Regions from separate parts of the Homo sapiens genome. Here region 1 is linked to region 2. The links are contacts of gene promoters, found by promoter capture Hi-C in human tissues and cell types (Jung and others, 2019). All regions are on one chromosome and are shown on one strand. The core of a region is centred on a gene start or on the middle of the fragment in contact, and the rest is flanking DNA. Distances in the headings are between cores, read along the strand shown.

Evidence for each region. Contacts are between HindIII fragments. The study calls those that stand out against the background at their distance.
Region 1: a contact is called between the fragment with the promoter of AIFM3 here and the fragment with the promoter of YDJC in region 2, in 2 of the 25 tissues and cell types used here (lymphoblastoid cells and mesenchymal stem cells).

Annotation. Positions count from the first base shown.
Region 1 is chr22:20,964,627-20,968,766 of GRCh38, reverse strand. It overlaps AIFM3 (AIF family member 3), which reads right to left and starts at 1,512. Exons shown (of 21, transcript NM_001386814.1): 1 at 1,464-1,512; 2 at 792-962. The coding sequence starts at 822. LINC01637 (long intergenic non-protein coding RNA 1637) reads right to left here. Exons shown (of 2, transcript NR_110537.1): 2 at 4,087-4,140. The HindIII fragment of the contact is 23,315 bases long and covers 1-4,140 here.
Region 2 is chr22:21,627,943-21,632,159 of GRCh38, reverse strand. It overlaps YDJC (YdjC chitooligosaccharide deacetylase homolog), which reads left to right and starts at 2,138. Exons shown (of 5, transcript NM_001017964.2): 1 at 2,138-2,309; 2 at 2,399-2,558; 3 at 2,753-2,852; 4 at 2,973-3,150; 5 at 3,373-4,071. The coding sequence starts at 2,146. The coding sequence ends at 3,742. RefSeq lists silencers at 1,912-2,191, 3,102-3,191 and an enhancer at 3,697-4,217. The HindIII fragment of the contact is 8,887 bases long and covers 1-4,217 here.

The DNA.
Region 1 (4,140 bases), core at 263-2,762, 660 kb after region 2:
TGGCTGCGCTCTTGAGGTCTCTCTAAGCCTCAGTTTCTCCACCTGTGACAAAGCTGCACACTCCTGCCTCCCCAGGTGTTGTGAGGAGAGAAGAGGGAAAGTGGGGGGCCAGAGGGAGAGCTCCGCAGACATGAGTCTTTAGTGGAGAAAAGACCCAGGCCTCCCCTAGCACCCCAGGACACTCCCACTTCTGGCTGGAGTAGCTCAGGCTAGGTTGGATGGTGATTTCCTGTATAAATGGGGAAGTGTGCCCAGAAAGGCCAAGAAGGCAGCCCGAGACCACACAGGGGATCAGAGGAGGCAAAGAGAGCCAGGATCTGCCCACTACACCCTCACAGCAACTCTAAGAGGTCAGGGTGGCCAGGCCCTCTCTTTTGCAGAGAGAAAAACAGAGGCTCAGAGGGGTAACTTGCATGCCCTAGGTCACAGAGTGGCTGAGCGTGTCCCCAGCTCCCCCCTTCCCTGGCCCTGGGGGCATAGCCCCTTCCCCAACCCTGCAACAGGAGGAACCCTGACTTTCCTTTTCCAAGAAGGGTCCTGCTGTTATTCCCACCACCAACACTCAAAGCCCCAAAGAAAAAGGGGCACCCACTGGAGCAGGGGCCAGCTGGGGGAACTGCTCCAGGCCCCCTACCCCCTCCTGGCGGCAGCGTATTAACATTCCGAGCGGGTTCTTGGATAGCCTGACCTACTTCGGAGGCCTACCGAGTGCAGAGGGGGAGGGGGGGGAGACGGGGGAGGAGGAGGCGGGGAGGGAGGAGAAAGGATGGAGACAAGAAGACAGGAGGTACCTGGTTTGGGTTTGGAGAAGCAGCCGCCCATGGCGAGTGGCCTGAGGATGGCCGGCAGGCAGGAGCACAGATGGGGAGCTGTCGGAGGCCTAGGGCGCCCCCCATGGGGCTGGACCCCCTGCAGGCCTTAGAGACGCTGGAGCCGCCATCCTGCTGGAGCTGCTCTAGGACCTGCAGGGGAGACTGGAGCCATCAGGACCGGGGCGTGTGGGCAGGTAGAGACACAGAGGGACGGAGAGAGACAGTGGGAGCTTCGGAAAGAGTCTTACATTTGAGCTGGGAACCATGGCGTGAGCCTGATCCCAGAGCGTGGGGCCCTGGAGGTCACCTCCCCTTTGAAGCCCTCCAAGCTCAGCTCCCTCACTCCTCCAGTGGAGTTCCTCTGCCCGAACCTCGGCCGCCCATCGTCCAGCCCCGCGGCTGCCTTGCCCAGGAAATCCTCCCTGATTTCTACTGCCTCCTCGTGCCCCCCTTCCCCTCTCCAAATCCCACAGCCTGAGAGCTCTGGGACCCTCCATTCTCCCGGGAGACCACTATGCCTAGGCTCAAAGAGGGGGTCACCTTGGGGAAGCCAAAGCCCTTCTCATCCTTGGTCTTCTCCCTCCTACAATGGGGGTGACATCAGGCTCCCCCTAGCCCAGCCCCACCCTGGCTAGCACTCCGGACACCCACCTCCTCGCAGGGCAGCCACTGCTCCGTGTTCCAGGCCCAGCAGTGGACTGAGGCTGCCGGGCCTTGGAAGGCCGGGCAGGGAGGGCAGGGGTCCAGGAGGCGGCCCAGCCTCCACCCTCCTCCCAGCTCAAGCTGTGGCCAGGAGGGGCTGGGGGGCGGTGTGGGGCTGGGCCAGTCCACTGGTCCCCAGGGAAACCCTGCTCTGTGGTGAACAGAAGTGGGCGGCCAGCCCGGGCCTGATGGGGTTAGGGGAAAGGGAAGCCAGGCACACAGCCCTGCCACGCCTGTGCCCAGCAGCCATAAGCTCCCCCTACCCCCGACTCCAGCCCTTCACAAACGCCCACCAGGCCTGTGGGCAGTCATGCCCAACAGCATATGGGGAAAGCAAGGGGTCAAGGTCCCATCAAGGTCAAGCAGCAGGGGCATCCCTGTGGCCTCCCACCCCACCCTCCCACCTTGATCAGTTTTAAGGTGGGCAGGGGCCCAGAAAGCCCCCATATCACCCTAAGGCCCTGCAAGGTGCCCTGGGGGAGGGGACACCTGCACAGCAGAGAGATCACTGTAGCCAGGTGCCTTCCAGGCTACAGGGTGGGCCTTCCGGAAGATGCAGCCTACAGGTGGACTTTGGAAGGCCCAGGGCACAGGCATAAGCTGCCTTGTTTGCAAATGACCTCCCCACAGTCCATCCCACTGCCATCCTCCAGTTTCCTCTGGAAGTTCTTCCTGAAGTCTCACTTGAGGTGGGGCTGAGACCCACCTGGTCTGGTCCAGATACCAGGAAGGGCCGTGGGTGGGTGCCTGAGAGCAAGGGGTGGAAACAAAAGGCCAGGTTGGAGAGGGACCCTTGGTGCCTGGCCCCTGCGCCTGTCGGTCCTCGAGGTGCCCATTACAGGGGAGGAGGCGGTGGCTCCCACAGCCACTGGGGCGTGCCTTGGCTCTTTCCCCCACTTGTCATCAAAGAAGGTCTGTAAAACTCAACTGCCACCTGCCCCACCTGCCCCTTCCCTGGGCACTAGGCTGTCCCTTCCTGGGTCCTGGTTTCAGCCCTGGTTCAGCCCTGCCCGCTTCCTTCCTGGCTGACCTCAGGCCTCACCTGATGGGCCACAGATCCCAGAAAAGGTCAGACCTGGTCTTGCCACTGGGGACCTGCCCAGGCTGTGCTGTCCCTTCCCGAGTACCCAGGGACCTGAATCCCCCAGGGCCTGGGCCAGGAAGGAGACTGGGTGGGGCCCCTGTGCCTTCGGCCTACTGTGTGCTAGATCGGCTTGGAGCCCAGTCACCCCACTCAAAGGCAAAGGTCCTTGCCAGGGGCAGGGCAGGAGGGACCCCCAGAGTGCAGAGCGCCCGAGTGCTATTCCTTGCCCATGAGCTGCCCACTGCAGAAAAGTTCTAGCAGAGCCCAGTGCTAACCACCCAGCAGGAGTCTGTGTCTGTCCCAGGGACCCCAGGACCTGTGAGGCGGGACTGGATTACTCCCATCTCACAGAGCGGCCCCTGCTCCACCTGACCCTCCCAGGGCTCCTGGCGCCCCCAGGGTGCAGGCTGGGCAGGGTCCTCTCCCCACTCCTCCACCTCTCGCCACCTGCCCCCACTGCCTCATCCCAAGGGCTCCTGCCCAGATCGGACTCCCAGTGGCTTCCAGGCGTCCTAGGGGTGGCATCTGATCCCAGTCCTGCCTTCGAGTGTGGGGGCTCCGCGCTCTCCCCTCCCCCACGGAGCTCAGGGCAAGCCTCTGTCCACTCTCCCCGCCTCTGCACGTGCAGTTCCCTCTCTCTGGGAAGCCGATGCCAGCAGCCTCGCCGGCTCCGTCCCGTTGCCCCCGCCAGACCTTGCAGCCCGAGAAGGGGGACTGGCACACAGTGGGGCCCCGCGGCGAGCCGGGAAGGGGCCGTTGTGGGACGAGAGAAGGACGAGGTGAGCTTCGGACCCCGGCCAGTGCCTCTGGCCCCGCTTGCCAACCCCCAGCCCCTAACGTGCCGGGCCGGGGTCCGAGACTTGGGAGCGCAAGCGCTGGCCCCCGGCGCCGGGGCGAAGAGGCGGGGCGGCGGGCGGGGACCGGGGTTCCGGGGACCAGGGTCCCCGGGGCGGGCGCTCACCTGGGCTCGGCGCGGGCCTGGGCTCGGGAACCGCTTGGGGCCGCGGGCGCGGGGGGGCGGGGAGGCGCGGGCGGGGCGTGTCTGGCGCTGCGTTTGCACTGCGGCCGGGGAGCCCGCGGGCCCAGCACCGCCCCGCCGGGCCGGAGCAGGTGGGGGGCGGCCGGGGGACAGGGGCAGGCCGAGGCCCTCGGCGTCCGGACCGGAGTCGCGGGGCGTAGGGAGGCAGCCAGGGGCCGCTCTGGCCGGGGGCGCCCCGGGCCCGAGTCTGGGTCTCCGGGGATCCTCGCGACCTCCCAGGGATGCCCAGCTGGGGCGCGGGCAGGGTCTTTTTTCCTTTTCTTTCTTTCCAAAGTCTCAGAACCATCTGTGGGCGGGGTGGGGGAACTTGAATCACTCTGAGAAACCTCCACAAGAAAGAAAACCCCAATCAAACCTTGCTGCCCACAGCTCCCTTCACTGGTTGGGGGAGTTCAGGTTCCCCGGTGTCCTAGGTTCCTCCCGGCCCTCTCTCCACACATACCAGGGTCTGTTTTCAATTATATTTTATTACATTTTCTTTTTCTCACCTGTCATTTACCAGA
Region 2 (4,217 bases), core at 889-3,388:
CCTACAGCACACCCAGTAACCCAGTGGAGCCTTGTGTATTCTTTAATTAATTAATTTATTTATTTGGAGACGGGAGTCTCGCTCAGTCGCCCAGGCTGGAGTGCAGTGGCGCAATCTCGGCTGACTGCAAGCTCCGCCTCCCGTGTTCACGCCATTCTCCTGCCTCAGCCTCCCGAGCAGCTGGGATTACAGGGGCCCGCCACCACGCCCGGCTAATTTTTTTGTAGTTTTAGTAGAGATGGGGTTTCACCGTGTTAGCTAGGATGGTCTCGATTCCCTGATCTTGTGATCCGCCTGCCTTGGCCTCCCAAAGTGCTGGGATTACAGACCTGAGCCACCGCGCCCAGCGGAGCCTTGTATATTCTTACCTCCTCTCCCTCCCTCCTTTTCCCCTTTGCTCAGTAATACCCCACCATGGTGTCACTTCTTCCAAAAACCTTTTACTGTGAATTCTGCCACGCCCTACGCAATTCACAGTAAACCCCATTCCAGACTCTACCATACCATGTTGCTACTTATTTTTCTATCAGATGGTGCTTCTTTGGGGCCAGAACAGAGGCAAGTCACCCTTAATCTCTAATACTTTCAGTGTCTGGCACCAAGTAGGTGCTCAATAAATGTCAGTCTCCTCCTTCCCACCTGCAGACCCTCGGGACCTCTGACCTTTCCAAGATCAGCTTCCAGTGGAGAACGGTGGTTGGTTGAGGTCTGACAATTCACCAGTCACTATAAACACATCAGTCCTTATGCCAAGAGCATGGCTGAAGGACTCTATGAGGCTTTCAATCCTCACATGCCTCACGAAATATTGTTCCTCTCAAGCTCTGCTCTGTCCTCTCAGCTCTGGCTACCCACTAGGTCAGGGACAGAGAGGACATAGCAGGCCTGGGTGCTGGCCCCGAGGTGTGAGGTTCAGTCTTAGCTCCACTACTCCTGGCAGGACCACACTTTCGCTCTCTGAACCCCAGTTTCCTCATCTGTGAAACAGGAATGACATTACCAATTTCATAGCCCGGACACAAATACCACACTTTCCATGGGAAAAATCAAGACTGTCACATTGCAATGGAAACTGTGGCTGCCAACCATAATGACTATTTATACAGTCATGGGTAAGGAAAGCTTTTCTGGACCAAAGAGAAAACAGTGAAGTTATGAATGTAAAAGCTGTAGCCTGGCAGAGAGCTCAAGATGGAAACTGGAGATAATGTTTTCTCAAATGAAGCCTTAGTGTATATGCTTTCTTTCATTTTCTTAGTGTCTAGAGCTCAAGAAAAAAAAAAAATCAACAAATCAAGAAAATGCCTGCTCTTAGAAAAATCTGCAAAAGATCAATAGGCAATTTGAAAAAGAATAAAAATAGCTAATAATATGAAAATTTTCATTCGCACTGCTAAGAAACTACTAGAATGTGATAACATTGATATAATCATCTTTATGTTCTCAAAACAACACACAAAAAAGTTGGGTTGGGGAGAAAGGGAGTTGGGTGTGTTTATTTGCTTAGAGAAAACACTGGAAGGACACAACCCAGAAAGTTTACAATGGCAATCTCTGGGAAGGGTAGGAGATTCTTTTTTTTTTTTTTTTTTTTTTTTGAGACGGAGTCTCGCTCTATCGCCCAGGCTAGAGTGCAGTGGTGCGATCTCGGCTCACCACAACCTCCGCCTCCCGGGTTCAAGCCACGCTCCTGCCTCAGCCTCCCGAGTAGCTGGGATTACAGGCGCGTGCCACCACTCCCGGCTAATTTTTGTATTTTTAATAGAGACGGGGTTTCCCCATGTTGGCCAGGCTGGCCTTGAACTCCTGACCTCGTGATCCACCCGCCTCGGCCTCCCAAAGTGTTGGGATTACAGGCGTGAGCCACTGCGCCCGGCTTCCTTTTGATATTTTACATATTAAATATCACTTTTGCAGTCAAGGAAAGTTCCGCATTGCAATGAATCCATCACTGGTCTGGTTAGCGCGGGAGCAGTTGCCGGGTCCTTGCAGGGGCACGCCGGACCGCTAGGTGGCGAGAACAAAGGCGAAGTGCAGCCGCACCTGGGCGTGTGCGTCGGGGCGGGGCCCGGGCAGCGTCCGGGGGCGGGGCCTGGGCTGTCCGGCCCACTCCCCTGGGAGCGCGAGCGGTGGACCCAGGCGGCCATGTCCCGCCCTCGCATGCGCCTGGTGGTCACCGCGGACGACTTTGGTTACTGCCCGCGACGCGATGAGGGTATCGTGGAGGCCTTTCTGGCCGGGGCTGTGACCAGCGTGTCCCTGCTGGTCAACGGTGCGGCCACGGAGAGCGCGGCGGAGCTGGCCCGCAGGTGAGGGGAGGGCCTCTAGCAGGGCGGCGATCGGCTTGGGGCGCGCGGCTCCGCGGCCGCTAGTGCTCCAGCTCGCGCTCCGCCCTCAGGCACAGCATCCCCACGGGCCTCCACGCCAACCTGTCCGAGGGCCGCCCCGTGGGTCCGGCCCGCCGTGGCGCCTCATCGCTGCTCGGCCCGGAAGGCTTCTTCCTTGGCAAGATGGGATTCCGGGAGGCGGTGGCGGCCGGAGACGTGGATTTGCCTCAGGTGCGGAGCCGCAGCTACAGGAGGATGCTCGCGAGGACCCCCAGAGCTCCGCCCGGAGGGTACTGTGAGGCCGTTAGGAGCTGGCGGTGGATGACTTCCGCATTCAAACACTGGAGCCATCACACGGAAGCACGAGGAGGGTATCCTCGGCAGCTACTCCCGGTCGCTCAAGGTGTCTCTCGCTCGCCCTCTAGGTGCGGGAGGAGCTCGAGGCCCAACTAAGCTGCTTCCGGGAGCTGCTGGGCAGGGCCCCCACGCACGCGGACGGGCACCAGCACGTGCACGTGCTCCCAGGTGCGTGGTTAGTGATCCCAGTTTGGAGGGCGTTACTCCCAGGCGGGGCTGGGGGAGTAGGGGAAGTTCGATGCCCCCAGGTGAAAGGACGTGCTCCTCCCTGACCCGCTCCGCCCGCAGGCGTGTGCCAGGTGTTCGCCGAGGCGCTGCAGGCCTATGGGGTGCGCTTTACGCGACTGCCGCTGGAGCGCGGTGTGGGTGGCTGCACTTGGCTGGAGGCCCCCGCGCGTGCCTTCGCCTGCGCCGTGGAGCGCGACGCCCGGGCCGCCGTGGGCCCCTTCTCCCGCCACGGCCTGCGGTGAGGCTCCCCGCCCCGTCTCCTACCATAGCTGCCTCTGTCCCTCCGCACTGGCTGTTCACCTGGCTAGCTGTGTCCGTTTCTCAACCCGGAAGCGAGTCTGGCGTCGACCGCTGCCGCCACCCCAGTTACCCCCTCCCACCCCGCCGTCCCTTCCCTAGCCTACCTAGCCCTTGGCCATGGCCCGGCCTGGTCCCACCTCTGATGTCCCGCCCCCCACAGGTGGACAGACGCCTTCGTGGGCCTGAGCACTTGCGGCCGGCACATGTCCGCTCACCGCGTGTCCGGGGCCCTGGCGCGGGTCCTGGAAGGTACCCTAGCGGGCCACACCCTGACAGCCGAGCTGATGGCGCACCCCGGCTACCCCAGTGTGCCTCCCACCGGCGGCTGCGGTGAAGGCCCCGACGCTTTCTCTTGCTCTTGGGAGCGGCTGCATGAGCTGCGCGTCCTCACCGCGCCCACGCTGCGGGCCCAGCTTGCCCAGGATGGCGTGCAGCTTTGCGCCCTCGACGACCTGGACTCCAAGAGGCCAGGGGAGGAGGTCCCCTGTGAGCCCACTCTGGAACCCTTCCTGGAACCCTCCCTACTCTGACCCCCTACAGACAACCAAGCACTAATCCCCTTAGTACCAAGAAAGGGGAGCCAGGATTTAGTCCTGGCCCAGCCCAGAGCTGGGACCTGGAGCACGATCTGTTGACTTCCCTGGGTAGGACACTGCCACCTCTGGGCTCAGGTCCTCATGCCTCCAAATGGCATCTAGAGTTTGAGCAGCCTTCTTGGCTGCAGGCAGGCCTAGCCTGTGGCAGCGGGCTAGGGCCCGCAGAGCATTTGGTGCCCCTCCATGTTGCAATGCAAACACCTTCACCACTGGGGCAGTGGGGAGAGATGGCTATATTAATAAAATAACGTGTGTCTTTCAAACTTGGGTGGTTTATCAGCTGTGCCCAGGAGACCCTCAGAGAAACAAGCACGGACAAAGAGCAGCTCCCTCTTGGCTCAAACCACTCCAGGAAATGGCCCATTCTCCATTCTGGTTTTGTTCATGCTGCAATTTTCTTTATTCCTTT